Regions from separate parts of the Homo sapiens genome. Here regions 1 and 2 are each linked to region 3. The links are contacts of gene promoters, found by promoter capture Hi-C in blood cells and fetal thymus (Javierre and others, 2016). All regions are on one chromosome and are shown on one strand. Each heading gives the region's core, a stretch centred on a gene start or on the middle of the fragment in contact. The rest is flanking DNA. Distances are from core to core; before and after follow the strand shown. Region 1 holds the start of PYROXD2 (pyridine nucleotide-disulphide oxidoreductase domain 2). Region 2 holds the start of ARHGAP19 (Rho GTPase activating protein 19). Region 3 holds the start of GOLGA7B (golgin A7 family member B).

Region 1 (4,590 bases), core at 111-2,610, 570 kb before region 3:
TGCAGGGAACAGCTTTGGGGCTGGGGGAACTAGAACCCACATGTTGGTCTAAACCCTGAGAAGGTGGCAGTGAGGAAGTATCCCCTCAGGTGACTGGATCTGTGTTCCTCCTTAACATCATCTGATGGAATGGCAATGAAAAGCGTGGATTGTGGAAAATACAGAAAAACATAAAGGAAAAAACTCCAATCCCCTGAGCCCACCACTGTTCAGGACCCCTGCTTTTGTCACCTACTATTTCCCTTTAGTTTTTAGCAGCGGCTGGATGTGATATGTCTAGTTTAACCAGTCCCCTTGATCTTTCTATATAATAAATAACACAGGAGTGAACATCCTGAATCAGATCTTAGCAGAGATGCTCACATGCGGGGTAACTGTCCATGGTGTGTGGAGGGGTCCTCGGAACCCCCTCTTAGGATCATCTCCACATACTCTCCCAGTTCTGAGATTCGTTACCAATAGCAGGTTTCCGTCACACTGCGATATCAGAGCAGTGCAGGAACTCTCCGCTCCAAGGGGTTTTTTCCTCCTAGGGGAACACTCTGCTAAGTAATGGGCAGAGAACAAAGGGGCTCCTAATTCAAGGCAGGCCTAAGGGAGGGTCAGAAAGAACTTTAGCTGGAGGTATTTACAGATGTGACCTCGAATCCTTGGGGATTCTTGGAAAATGGGCAAGGTGCCAAAAGAGGAGAACTGGCCAGGCCTTCAAAACTAAAACACCAGAGAATTACAGACAGCGAACTTGCCCCTAAGCCCTCGTTGTGGGTTTGTGTTTGAGCATTTAGGAGAGGACTCCAGTGCTCCTCAGCGACAGACACAGCTGCCTCTGCGGTGTCTGAAGGCCCTGGTCGTGGTGACGCTAGATGGCCGCCCTGGGCGCCTCCTGTGGGCGTAGAGGCATCACCACTCTGCACTGGCAGACTCAGCATGGAGTTGGAGCAGAGTCTGACACGAGCACTTGCCATCCCAGGCGTTTCAGTTCTGACTGAGAAGGTAGATGCACAGGGGAGGAGAGGGCCCTTTCGAGCTCCACTCTGCCTCCACCACTCATTCCCTAACCCCGCAGCCTCAGCGCCCTCATCTGTAAAATGGGGAGTTTTGCCTACAGGGTTCAGCACAATGCCAGCCTGACATAGGAACCCCAGTGGATTGTCAGTTTTGCCATTATCCCCTGCATCCTGGAGGTGACACCGCCTGGTTAATAGGCAACACTCCCGACGGCCCAGCACAGCCCCAGGGCAGCAGGAGGCTGGCCTGTGGCCAAGAATGCATGGTGGAGGGGGCCTGGAGGGGGACTGCAGCTCCTCCTCTTCCTGCTTCCTCCCTGCTCCACCCCGTGCCTAGGGCAGCACAAAAGCCAATCGCTAGCAAACTCCCTGCCTAGCAAGGCCCAGCCTGGGGCAGAAATGGCTGCAAGTGGCCGAGGTCTCTGCAAGGCTGTGGCCGCCTCTCCCTTCCCGGCGTGGAGACGAGATAACACGGAAGCCAGGGGAGGTCTGAAGCCTGAGTATGATGCGGTGGTGATAGGAGCAGGTAAAGTGGTAAAGCAGGCCGGGCCAGAGCTGAGGGGCGGGAAGACAGCCCTGCTCAGAGCTTGGTGGGGAGGGGGAGGGGGAGCCAAGCCCCACTGCTCTCTCCTCTGGCATAACCCAGCCAGAAGTTTATACGCTAGCAGGGGCTGCAATGGAAAGCCCTTCCATCTGGCAGGCAGGCACCTGGGATTCCGGTGCTGGCTCTGCTGTGTGGCCTGGGGCAAATGCTTGCCTTCTCTGGGCTTGGATCTTCCCATGGAGAATGACAGGAAGACTAGGTGAGCTCAGGGGTTTCCCTATATCTCTTGCAAAGTGACCTAGTTTCCACCACATTCTCAGCCTATGGTTTGTAAGGGTTGGAAAGAGCCCTGGGCCAACAGACAAGTGAAATCCAGCACCCCGCCCCCTCAGTGCCCTGAGTTCTGGTCACCACTACCTTACCACTGAGGCCACCCCTCGTCACAAGAAACTGCAGTCATTTCATAAAGGCCAGTTAGGATAAAACAGAACTGAGTCCCAGAGTTCCTACTGCGTGTCTGCAGAGGGAGATGGACCCCATTGCCTTGCAGCTCTGGGACATTTGGGGATCTGCAGTGATCTGCCACACTTTGCCAACCCCTGGGCTCAGAGTATCACAGTCTACTGGGTGCTAGGGGAAGAGGCAGGCCCAGGACCAGGTGGTCTTTCCTTAGTGCCTTCCTTTCACACTTGCAGAGGGCCCCAAATGCATGATTGCCAACTGGGTCTATACAGAGATAATGACGGGACCGAAAGCAGACGGCACTCAACATGCAGCTTTGAGGGCATGCCTTCATTTTCATATGTACTAGAGCAGTTGCGAGCTGGTAGATACTCAACACTCACCTCTCCAGGGAAAAATGTGTGATGTATGTGTGTGTGTACATGTATATATATGTATATATACACACATATATGTGTATATATATGTATATGTGTTACGTACATATATATACACATATACACATGCTTATTTTAAATATTGAAATAAAAGATACACTGCACACAATTTTACAAATAAAGATACAATACTCTCAATTTAAATGCAGTCTACCCGAGTGATTCTTACCAAAGGCTTTCTTTGATTTTTGCCAAACTCAGTAGCCAACCTATAGTTGCAAATGACAAATGAGGGTAGCTCCAAAGAGAACGGTGCTCCATATTTTCTGTAAAGAGTAGGATGATCGTGAAACAAATGAAACAACAAAGATTTATGTCCCAACCTTACTCCTTTATTTTTTAAAATTTATTTTTATTTTATTTATTTATTCATTTATTGAGATGGAGTCTTGCTCTGTTGCCCAGGCTGGAGTGCAGCGGCGCAATCTCGGCTCACTGCAACCTCCGCCTCCTGGGTTCAAGCGATTCTCTTGCCTCAGCCTCCCGAGTAGCTGGGACTACAGGCGCCCACCACCACGCCCGGCTAATTTTTGTATTTTTAGTAGAGACGGGGTTTCACCATGTTGGCGAGGCTGATCTCAAACTCCTGGCCTTGTGATCCACCTGCCTCAGCCTCCCAAAGGGCTGGGATTACAGGTGTGAGCCACTGCGCCCGGCCTCCTTCTTTAAATGACAGGAATGATGTTACTCAAATAAGATAATATTGTTCTAATACTAGAATATTTCCTTCAATTTTTGTGCTATTTATTCATGCTATAACAGCTAACACTGTTAGGTTTAATCTGCATTATTAGCATTTTCCCATCACTTTCTTAAGCCTGACCACAAAAAATAAATTCAGCCCTTCTGTGTAATATTTGCTGATGACAGTGGTGTAAATACTCCCACCATAGCCTTTTCTGTTACCAAGATGAGGTTGCTCAATGTGATTTAGGAGAGATACCCAGTAGCACATCATTGTATAGTGTGTCCACCATGCAGATATGTACATAGAGGCCAGTGACTGCCAGGGCATGGGCAACAGTCAAATGTAGTAAAACAAATAGGAGGTAGTGTGTTTTGAGTATTTATTACCTTTGTTTTTAATTTATTTAATTGTAAGCTTATATAATTTAGTTTATATCAATGGCTGTTTGACAGCCGGCTCACAAACTCCCCGGGCTGGTGGGAGCCATCTCCAGCACCTCACTTAGCCTCAGAGAAGCCCCCTGCCTCCTTCCGTGCTCAGCCACAGCTCACCCTGCTGTCTCCTAATGGGGAAGGTTGACTTTAGGTCACCAGCTGCCTTGGTGACTTGCCTACAAGTGCGAGTGAGTCTCAGTGTGTGAGCTTTTCCTTGACATGATTTCTTTAGTTGCTAAACATACCATAAAGCCTGGTTTAAAGGCATCTTGGGCCTCAGTGAGGAACAGAACGGCATCTTCTGAGACAAGGGTTACCTCTGAGTCCCTGAAGGCACACTGGCACCTGGCCGCCACCTTGAAGATGAATCTCATTTAGTCATTTGACTAAATGTGCCTGAGAGTGACTGAGGGGGCTTGTTAAAATGGAGATTCCTGGCCCCATACCTGGTGACGAGCATTCTGAGGGCGGGAGGTGTCTCCCAGAGGTCAGCACATCCACCCAACCAACACTGCCTGATGCAGGCAGCTGCAGAGCCCACGCCCAGAGCAGCTCCTCAAGGGCCCAGGCGCCTGCTATGGGGCCCCTGAGGCAGGTCTGGGGATTAGCAGAGCCCGCAGCTGAAGTCCTCTTCAAGGGAACAGAGGTGTCACCAGAAGCCAAGGAGGGCTCAGCCAGGACTTGAGGGTGGTCACTGGGAGGGGGTCTTGTGCTTTGGATCCTTGACCTTACTCATTTGAGGTCTGCCATGATTGAACTGGACCCAGTTGCCTGGAAGACTATGAGTTTTCCAAGATCGATCATCAGCACCAATTAAAAGACAAATAGCTCCCATTTATCTCATCCTTGCCACACTGCAGGGTCCCTGGCACCCTCTGTTCCCCATGTGAAGAAACTCAAGGCTCAGGGCAGCTGATGACTCTCTGAGGTCATGCCCTGGCAAATAGCAGAGGCTGGGCTGAGCCCAGGACTGTCTGCCTTTAGTTTGCTGCATGTCTTTGAGAGACAGATTCCATCT
Region 2 (4,408 bases), core at 1,134-3,633, 560 kb after region 3:
CACTGATACGTTTGCTAAATTTTATGTTTCTTTCCATGTATTTGCTCAATAAACATGATTTGTTAAACATCAAACTAAATAAGACTGGGCATGGTGGCTCACACCTGTAGTCCCAGCACTTTGGGAAGCCTAGGTGGGTAGATCACTTGAGTTCAGGAGTTCGAGACCAGTCTGGCCAACGTGGCAAAACCCATCTCTACTCAAATACAAAAATTAGCCAGATGTGGTGGCACACACCTGTAATCCCAGCTACTTGAGTGTCTGAGGCTGGAGAATTGCTTGAACTCGGGAGGCAGAGGTTGCAGTGAGTGGAGACCATGCCACTACACTCCATCCTAGGCAACAGAGTGAGACTCTGTTTCAAACAAAAAACATAAAAAACATCAAACTAAATGCAATTTTATTTGGACACATTTATCAAACTTTTATTTTCTTTTTTAGAGAAAGGGTCTCATTCTGTCGCACAGCCTGGAGTTCAGTGGCACAATCATAGCTCACTTTAACCTTGAACTCCTGGGCCCAGGTGATCCTCCTGCCTCAGCCTCCAAAAGTGATGGGATTATGGGTGTAGGCCACTGTGCCTAGCCCTTATCAAACTTTTAGTATTAATTCATCAATTGAAAAAAATCTATTAGAGTATATGATTTGATTTTTTATTTGGATATAATAGTTTGAGGACTTGCTTATATTTTTCAAAAATATTTATTGGACAGCCATTATGTGCCAGAAACTGTGGGGAGCAAAATAAATATAGTCTCTGCCCACTTGTGGCAGGAAGCCTAGCTGGGAACCCTCACATGAAATAAATAGTCACACAAATGACTATGTAATTGTGAGTTGTGATATGAACTGTGAAAGAATAGTACAGAGTTCTTTGTGAAAGTTTACTGAGGGAATTGATTTATACAATGGGGGTCATGGAAGATCTTTGAGCCAGTGACATTTAAGCTTCGACCTGAAAGCCAAAAAAGTGGAAAAATGGACGAGCCAGAAAAAGCAACATGTGCAAAAGCCCTAAGACAGTTCAGAAAGTGAAGCATGTGCAGTACAGTTTAGTAAAAAGGAGGCAGAGTGCAGGGAGAGCCCCAGGTGGCAGGATATCAGAAGGATCAATACAGAAATTCCCGAGAAAAGTCCAGCATAGGAAAACAATATGGAAAAACAAAAAACAACAATGCTCAAAATTTACAATGTTCTCACATATGTTGCCTCAGTTAATCCCTAGGAGAAGTGTGTGCCGCAGGGAGGACAAGGATAATTATGGTTATTCCTACCATTGAGGATTAAAGTTTAGTTTGGGACAAAGTCATGCAGCTTTTGGTTCCATGGTTCATATCACAAGGCAAACTCTGTGGGTTCTCTGGGAAGTTGGAAGGGAGTGAATGTATTGAAGCAGAAATGACCGACTCCAGCCTGGCCAACAGGGTGAAACCCCATCTCTACAAAAAGTACAAAAATTTGCCCTGTGTGTTGGTATGCTGCAATATTGTACTGTGCTCCAGCATGGGAGACAGAGGGAGACCTTATCTCAAAAAAAAAAAAAAAAGAAAGAAATAAAGGAAGAAAGAAATGACCTATGGCTAGGGCTATGCTGAGTATCTGAAGAAAGAAGGCTTTGAACTATACGTTTAAAAGCAAGTACTTCTAGGTTGCCACTCCCTGCCTGCACTTGAGGGATTTATCTCTGGGTCAAGACAGAGAACGAGTCTTGCATTAAATTACATTAAATTAAATGAATTAATTTATGGCTGGGTGCAGTGCCTCATGCCTGTAATCCCAGCACTTTGGGAGGCTGACATAGGAGGATTGCTTGAGCTCAGGGGTTCGAGACCAGCCTGGGCAACATGGTGAAACCCTGTCTCAACAGAAAAAAAAAATTAAAAAAATTGTAAAAAAAAATTATTTATTTTCAACTTTTATTTTAAATTTAGGGGGTACATGAGTTGGTTTGTTATCTGGGTATATTGTGTGATGCTGAGATATAGGGTACGGAGTCTTGCATTTTAGAAAGTGATGAGTCACTTTCAAAGTTGACAGTTCTATAATTCCCTGATTTACATATCAGGACAAAATTTGAGCATAGGCTGGTGATTTCTGACTTGAACCTAAAGGTCTGTGGAATCGGAAGGGTTCATCAAAATGAGAAACTACAACTCCCGGCAGGCCTCGGGGCTGGGTCTTCTTCCCCGCCCCTCCCTCTTTTTCCGCCAGGGCTGGGAACGACCAATGACGGTTAGTCATTTGAATAGACCAATAATATATTAAACGGTTCAGGTTGAGGAGGGGCGGTCGAGTCATCCAATCGCACGGAAGAGGTGAAAACATATTAGCCAATCCAAATATGTGGGGGCGGGACGTAAGGTGGGGCGGTGAAAGAAGTTTGCTGACGAAGATGGCGACTGAGGCACAGAGTGAAGGGGAGGTGCCAGCCCGCGAATCCGGCCGGAGGTGAGCTGAGTTTGGTCCAGTTTCCTGGGAAACGCGGCCTTGGGCTGGTAGTCCTGCCGCCTTTGCCTTGGGTCACGGAGGCGCACGGTTCGGGCTTTGTTTCTTTCTCCCACGGCGTTTCTCATCGTCGCGCCTGCGGGGGCTGAGGCGCGGGGGTCGGGCCTGGGCGCTGGACTCCAGCCAAACCCCCCGCTCGGTCCTGCCGGTGCCCGAGGGGGCTCCTCCCGCTGCGCTGGCTGCAGACGTCCAGCTGGGGGTGGCAGCGCTGATCGCTTTGGCGCCGAGACACCTCTTGATGGCGAGGAAACGGAAGTCCAGGGCTGGTTAGCGAATTCCTCACTGTTGCACACAGCGCTTCACATCTTCTCCGAGGCACTTTGTGCGTTCAGGTCCGAGCAAGGATTTGAGTGTCAATTAGAAACAGTGTTGAGTCCTTGGGCCAGTTTTTAAACCTCTCTCGACTTCAGTTTCTTCATCTGCAAAGGGACGTGAGGATGCCTATTTCCAAGTGTCAAGATTGAATAAGACAATCCATTTAAAGCTAGCACTGAGTTTAGCCGATAATGACAACTCTACGCAATAGATTTTCTTCTTCCTAGTAGAACAGCTAAGGAGCAGATGGGAGAGGGATCTGTAGTCCAGGACATCATGACTTTATTTCCACAGGATGTTCTTTCCTAAACAGCCACACCGAGATTTAGCGTTTTCAGGAGAGAATTTCGAGGTGGTGTTGCCTTAGCCTTGAGACCTAAGTTGTCTTAATTGATTACAATTTTGTTTTTGGTGTAATTCAATAGATTGAGTTTATTTACGTTGCCTCAGTGTAACTCAGTAAAATACTTCGGTTTGGCGTCTTTTGGTTCCATTTGTACCGAATAAGAGATTCCAAGAATCTTGGGAAACTAATAACTTTGTGACTCGGCTTCTTCCTGAGCCCAGATGAGCGTGGTTGAGTGTGTTATTTAAAATATCATACGGGGCCGGGCATGGTGGCTTACGCCTGTAATCCCAGCACTTTGGGAAGCCGAGGGGAGCGGATCACCTGAGATCAGGAGTTCGAGACCAGCCTGGCGAACATGATGAAAGCCCGTCTCTACTAAAAATACAATAATTAGCCGGGTGTGGTGGCGGGCGCCTGTAGTCCCAGCTACTCAGGAGGTTGAGGCGGAGGTTGCAGTGAGCCCAGATGCGCCATTGCATTCCACCCTGGGTGACAGAGCAAGACTATGTCTCAAATAAATAAATAAAATAAAATATGATATGGAAGAGTTTTCCACTCTTTTTTGTTTTGTTTTGTTTTTGTTTTGCAGTTGCAAGATTTCATAGAGTGAAATAGAGTGAAAACACAGCTCCCACACAAAGGGAGGGGACCCAAAGTGGGTGGCCGTTGCTGGCTCTAATGCCTGGGTTTATATCCTGATCCTTGTCCCTCCCGCTGTGCTCTCAGGCAAGAGATGATTGGCTATTTCTTTACCTCCTGTTTTTGCCTAATTAGCATTTTAGTGAGCTCTCTGATTGGTTGGGTGTGAGCTAAGTTGCAAGCCCCGTGTTTAAAGGTGGATGCGGTCACATTCCCAGCTAGGCTCAGGGATTCTTAGTTGGCCTAGGAAATCCAGCTAGTCCTGTCTCTCAGTCCCCCTTCTCAACAGGAAAACCCAAGTGCTGTTGGGGAGATTGGCCGATGACCGCCCTAACTGCTTCCTGCTGAATTGGGGCGTAGTAGGGGTTGTGCAGTTGAGATTTCCTCGGGAGGGTTGCCTTCGATGTCATTAACATCGGAGCATGGGCTAGCAGGCTGTTCCAGGGGTCCGCGGTGGATCTTAGTCATAGACTGCATCTGGGGCTCCATTTGAAGAATGATTTGTAGTTTTACAGTTTCAATTCTGGAAGAGACAAACGCTTTGGATGCCCCTTCGTGGTCACCAAAATGTTACCGGGGGTCCTTGCTCACAGAGCTCCC
Region 3 (4,782 bases), core at 291-2,790:
CCACACTTGGTATTAATGTCACACTGCTCACCAGGATGCCCAGAAGCACTGCATTGAATCATTCACAGGCCTCTGCTCTCCCCCAGTGTATGCCAGCTGGATTGGAAATGGGGAGACACCACAAAGGAAGTCAACATCAGAACTGGGGAGACCCTGATGTCCTGAGTTTCGCTCCAAAAATTCAAAGGCAAAAACTTTCCGCTCTGCTGCTGACATGCTGTGTGGAGTAGCAAATTAGTCCTTTCGTTTTCCACACATCACCTTTATCATGTATAAAGTGGGAACATAAAGAGCCCAATCTCCCTCCTGAAATGAGGGGGGAAAGGGCAATCCCTAGGGGTAGAGGGGGGAATCCTCGACCTCAAGCATTATACCAAGATTCTGCCCTTAGCTAACAGGCCCCGTGGTTCAGCCTTCAAGTGCTTGAAGGTGACACACCTATCAGTGCACCTTGAAGAAGGCAGAAACTCCCATCAGATGGAGGGGAAATCTGGACACCCTGGGACAAAAAAAAAAAAAAAACTCGAATGGGGTAAAAAAGCAAGAAGGGTGATATGCAAAAGTGGAGACCAACCATTTGGGTTCTCAGCCTGAGGATGTCTTTGTCCCCTCCCTCCCGCAAAGGAAATGCGGATGTAGAGGTAAGTCTGTCATCCCTTAGCCAAGCTTTTGGGTTCAGAAGCTGACTGCATAGCAACAGCGGACAGCCGCCTTCCCTCCCCTCACACACGCACACACACGCGTCTCCAACCCTCTAGGAAAGCGGTTTCAGGACTTGTGAAGTCCAGGGAAGGGGAAACCCCAGCCTGGGGCCCTGAAGCAACCCTGGCGCTAATGCCAACAAGTGTCGCGGACAGCTTGGGGGCTCAGGTGGGGCGAGGGGAAGATTGACACGCAAGGGGGAGATGAGCCCTCACTAAGCCCCTACCTCCTCCCTCCAGACCTGACCTGGGGAATCACCCCATCCCACCCCCAACTCCCGCCTCCCACTCCTGCCCAGCCCACCCCTAGGGCATTTGGTCCCGCGGCAATCGGGCACTGCCTGCGGGTGGGGCGCTCGCCCCTACCTCGGTGGCCATGATCCGGGGGCGCTCGGAGGCTGTCGCGGGGCCGGGCGAGGGGGGTCTCCGCGGTGCTGACCCCGGGAGCAGGTGGGCGGCGGCGGTGGCGGCGAGCTGGGGCCCGGGGCGCTGTCCGCAGTGCTGATGCGGGCGCCGCGGGCCCGGGCTCAGGTGGGCCGGGGGCGGGCGGGCGGCTGGGTCCAGGCAAGGGGCGCGGCGCTGTCCGCTGTGCTGAGGCAGGCGCCGGGCCCGGGAGGCGAGGCCGCGCCCGAGGCTCCTCACGGCCCGATCGCCCGCTGCCGCGGCTCCTGCAGGCAACGGCCGGGTTTAGCTTTGGCGGCGGCGGCGGCGGGGATGGGGGCGGCCGGGGGAGGAGGGGCCAGGAGCCGCCGCTGGCCGGGAGGGGGAAGCCGCGGCCCCCAGACTCCGGCGCCGCCGGAGAGGAGCCCCGCCCGGGCCACAGGCTCGGCTACCGCCCCGCGCGAGGCCCCGCCTCCCCTTCCTGCCCTCCCCCTCGTGAGAGCCCCGGAGCTCTGCGCTCGCTTCCGTGGCCCCCGGGACATCCAGCCTGAAGGACAGTGGGGCAGGAATTTTTCCGGGGCAAGACGCTTCAGCCTGCAAGGCTGACCGCTCCCGAGCCGCTCGCAGGCCCGCAGGTGAGGCCTCTCTACCTTTCCAGCCACCCCCAGTGCCCCGGCTCTACCCCTCCCTCGCCCCGCCCCCAGCTTCCTCTTTAGAATAATTTCTTTTCTTTCTCTCCCTTTTCCTCTCTGTGTGCCCCCCCCCCATATACACACAGTCAGGCTTGCACGGACGGCCCCTCTTTTCCCCTCTCCTTTGCACTTCCTGGAACCCCACTAGCTAGACAAAGATCCTGCCGACCGCAGAGAATCATTTCCTTTCTTTAAATACGTGCCCACATTTCGTTCTCAGCCATAGCCTGGGGTCCCTTCTTTCAGGCAGCTCCAGAATTGAAGCCAGTCTCTCCTTGCTGCTCTTCCTGGACCTGGTCCCCACCCTTTACTCTTCCCTCTCTCCTCTGCAACCCGAGTTTACATACACGCACCACCACTACCACCACCACTCAAAAACCACAAGCAGATGGTGCCAAACCGGTATGCTCACTCTCCAAGGATGGCAGGTCTGGCTCTGGTGCCACCTTCGCACTTTTGACATCATAAATTCCAACTAAATGATCTATTTGTTTAATAAAAAGGAGACCAGGTGCAGTGGCTCACACCTGTAATCCCAACACTTTGGGAGGCTGAGGTGGGAGGATTGCTTGAGCCCAGGAGTTCAAGACCAGCCTGGGCAAGACCCTGTCTGCACAAAAAATGAAAACATTAGCCGGGCGTTGTGATGTGTGCCTGTGGTCCCAGCTACTCAGAAGGCTAAGGCAGGAGAATCACTTGAATCCAAGAGTTCAAGGCTGCAGCTAGCCATGATTGTGCCACTGTACTCCAGCCTGGGCAATAGAGCAAGAGCCTGTCTCTTAAAAAAATAAAAATAAGGCCGGAAGCAGTGGCTCATACCTGTAATCCCAGCACTTTGGGAGGCCGAGACGGGTGGATCACCTGAGGGCAGAAGTTCAAGACCAGCCTGGCCAACATGCTGAAACCCCATCTCCACCAAAAATACAAAAAAAAATTAGCCAGGCATGGTGGCACCCGCCTGTAGTCCCAGGTACTCAGGAGGCTGAAGCAGGAGAATTGCTTGAACCCGGGAGGCAAAGGTTACAGTGAACTGAGATCACACCATTGCACTCCAGCCTGGGCGACAAGAGCGAAACTCTGTCTCAAAAAATAAATAAATAAATAAATAAATAAAATAGACATAAAAAAAAGGAAACACCAACACAAGTGCCTTTTTACATACCCATAATACCCCTTGGTCTCTTTGAGGGGTGGTGGGGTGTGCTCCTCTGCAGCTCACTGCTGCCTGAGAGTCTGAAGCCCACACACAGGGAGAACCTGGCGGCCAAGAGACCTGGCCCAGGCTTTTCCAGCTGTATAACCTCGAGCAACTGTCTTGTTTTCTGAGCTTATGGTTCTCTTTCTGTAAAATGTGAGTGTTGGATTTCACTAGACTGTTTCTAGGACCTTTTGTTTTTTCTCCAACCTTTTATTTTGACATTTTTAAACATACCAAAATGTTGAAAGAATAGTACAATAAACTATGCCATCTACCTAGCTCCAACAATTGCTTTTTGCCACATTTGCTTTATTGATAGATATGAAAACAGAGCTATATTTGCCTAGATTATCAGAAGGTGACAGATATCGTGGCCGGGCGCGGTGGCTCACGCCTGTAATCCCAGTACTTTGGGAGGCCGAGGTGGGCGGATCATGAGGTCAGGAGATTGAGACCATCCTGGCTAATACGGTGAAACCCCGTCTCCACTAAAAAATACAGAAAAATTAGCCGGGCGTGGTGGTGGGCACCTGGGGAGCTACTCCCCAGCTACTGGGGAGGCTGAGGCAGGAGAATGGCATGAACCCAGGAGGCAGAGCTTGCAGTGAGCCGAGATTGCGCCACTGCACTCCAGCCTGGGTGACAGAGCGAGACTCCGTCTCAAAAATAATAATAATAATAATAATAATAAGGTGACAGACATCGTGAGGTTTTATCTGTAAGTACTTCAATGAGATTTTATCTGTAAGTACTTCAATTCACCATGCATCTCCCAAGAAGAAAAGCGTTATCCCAACTAGGCACAACACCATTCTCATGCTTTATTTTATTTTATTTTATTGAGATAGGGTCTTGCTCTATCACCCAGGCTGGAATGCAGTGGCACCATCTCAGCTCACTACAACCTCTGCCTCCTGGGTTCAAGTGATTTTCAGCCTCCCAAGTAGCTGGGATTACAGGCACGCACCACCATACCCAGCTAATTTTTGTATTTTAAGTAGAGACAGGGTTTCACCATGTTGGCCAGGCTGGTCTCAAACTCCTGAGCTCAGGTGATCCGCCCACCTCAGTCTCCCAAAATGCCAGGATTACAGGCATGAGCCACCGCACCCAGCCAATTATCATGCTTTTAAAATGCCCATATTATCTAATATTCTAGAACAGTTTGTCACCCCTAAAACACATTAATAGCGATGACCCCTCAAAAATTTTCCCAGAACTTTTCATTTTTAGTAGCTAACATTTAGTGAGCACTTACCATGTGCCAGCCCATATGCTACACACTTTACATGTATGATCTTACGTAATCCTCACAATTACTCTTTGAGTTGTGTTCTTGTGATCTTTTTATTATTCCCACTTTATAAATGAGGGAACTGAGTAAGTTGCCCAAGGTCATAGGGTTTGTGGGGAATGGAGACAGGATTCAGACATGGGCAGTCAAGCTCCAGAGCCTGTGTGGTTGATCCTCCTAACTGTATTGCCTCCCTCCAGCATCTGGTAGACCATAGACTAGCAGAGCAATGACCACATCTCCAGCTGCCTATTTTGCAGATGAAAACGCTGAGTCCCAGAGTGTAAGTGACATGCTAAAGAAGTTAAAGGCGGGTGTCTCATTCTACCTTATAGTTTGGCATAGGATTTGGCATAAAGGACCAAACAGAATATCTATGAATCCTGCAGTGGTCACTGGTAATAAAAGAACACATAATCTGATGATCTCCATGTAAATTTCACAGTTCCTCCCACTTGATTTTTATCACATCAATTAGACAACCTTCTGGAAACCATTCTCTTCACCTGATGACTA

What was found. Contacts are between HindIII fragments. The CHiCAGO score rates a contact against its expected background, and 5 or more counts as called.
Region 1: a contact is called between the fragment with the promoter of PYROXD2 here and the fragment with the promoter of GOLGA7B in region 3, in 3 of 17 cell types (total CD4 T cells, non-activated CD4 T cells and total CD8 T cells). The highest score is 7.5, in total CD4 T cells.
Region 2: the fragment with the promoter of ARHGAP19 here is called in contact with the fragment with the promoter of GOLGA7B in region 3 in 6 of 17 cell types (non-activated CD4 T cells, activated CD4 T cells, total CD8 T cells and 3 more); the score reaches 9.3 in non-activated CD4 T cells.

What each region holds. Positions count from the first base shown.
Region 1 is chr10:98,411,952-98,416,541 of GRCh38, reverse strand. It overlaps PYROXD2 (pyridine nucleotide-disulphide oxidoreductase domain 2), which reads left to right and starts at 1,360. Exons shown (of 16, transcript NM_032709.3): 1 at 1,360-1,533. The coding sequence starts at 1,407. It overlaps HPS1 (HPS1 biogenesis of lysosomal organelles complex 3 subunit 1), which reads left to right. Exons shown (of 20, transcript NM_000195.5): 20 at 1-344. The HindIII fragment of the contact is 3,850 bases long and covers 1-3,554 here.
Region 2 is chr10:97,290,612-97,295,019 of GRCh38, reverse strand. It overlaps ARHGAP19 (Rho GTPase activating protein 19), which reads left to right and starts at 2,383. Exons shown (of 12, transcript NM_032900.6): 1 at 2,383-2,448. The coding sequence starts at 2,393. It overlaps ARHGAP19-SLIT1 (ARHGAP19-SLIT1 readthrough (NMD candidate)), which reads left to right and starts at 2,347. Exons shown (of 15, transcript NR_037909.1): 1 at 2,347-2,448. RefSeq lists a silencer at 2,662-2,711 and enhancers at 2,056-2,812, 2,813-3,571, 4,330-4,408. The HindIII fragment of the contact is 8,887 bases long and covers 951-4,408 here.
Region 3 is chr10:97,846,601-97,851,382 of GRCh38, reverse strand. It overlaps GOLGA7B (golgin A7 family member B), which reads right to left and starts at 1,540. Exons shown (of 5, transcript NM_001010917.3): 1 at 1,068-1,540. The coding sequence starts at 1,079. GOLGA7B-DT (GOLGA7B divergent transcript) reads left to right here and starts at 1,585. Exons shown (of 3, transcript NR_108035.1): 1 at 1,585-1,717. The HindIII fragment of the contact is 7,033 bases long and covers 669-4,782 here.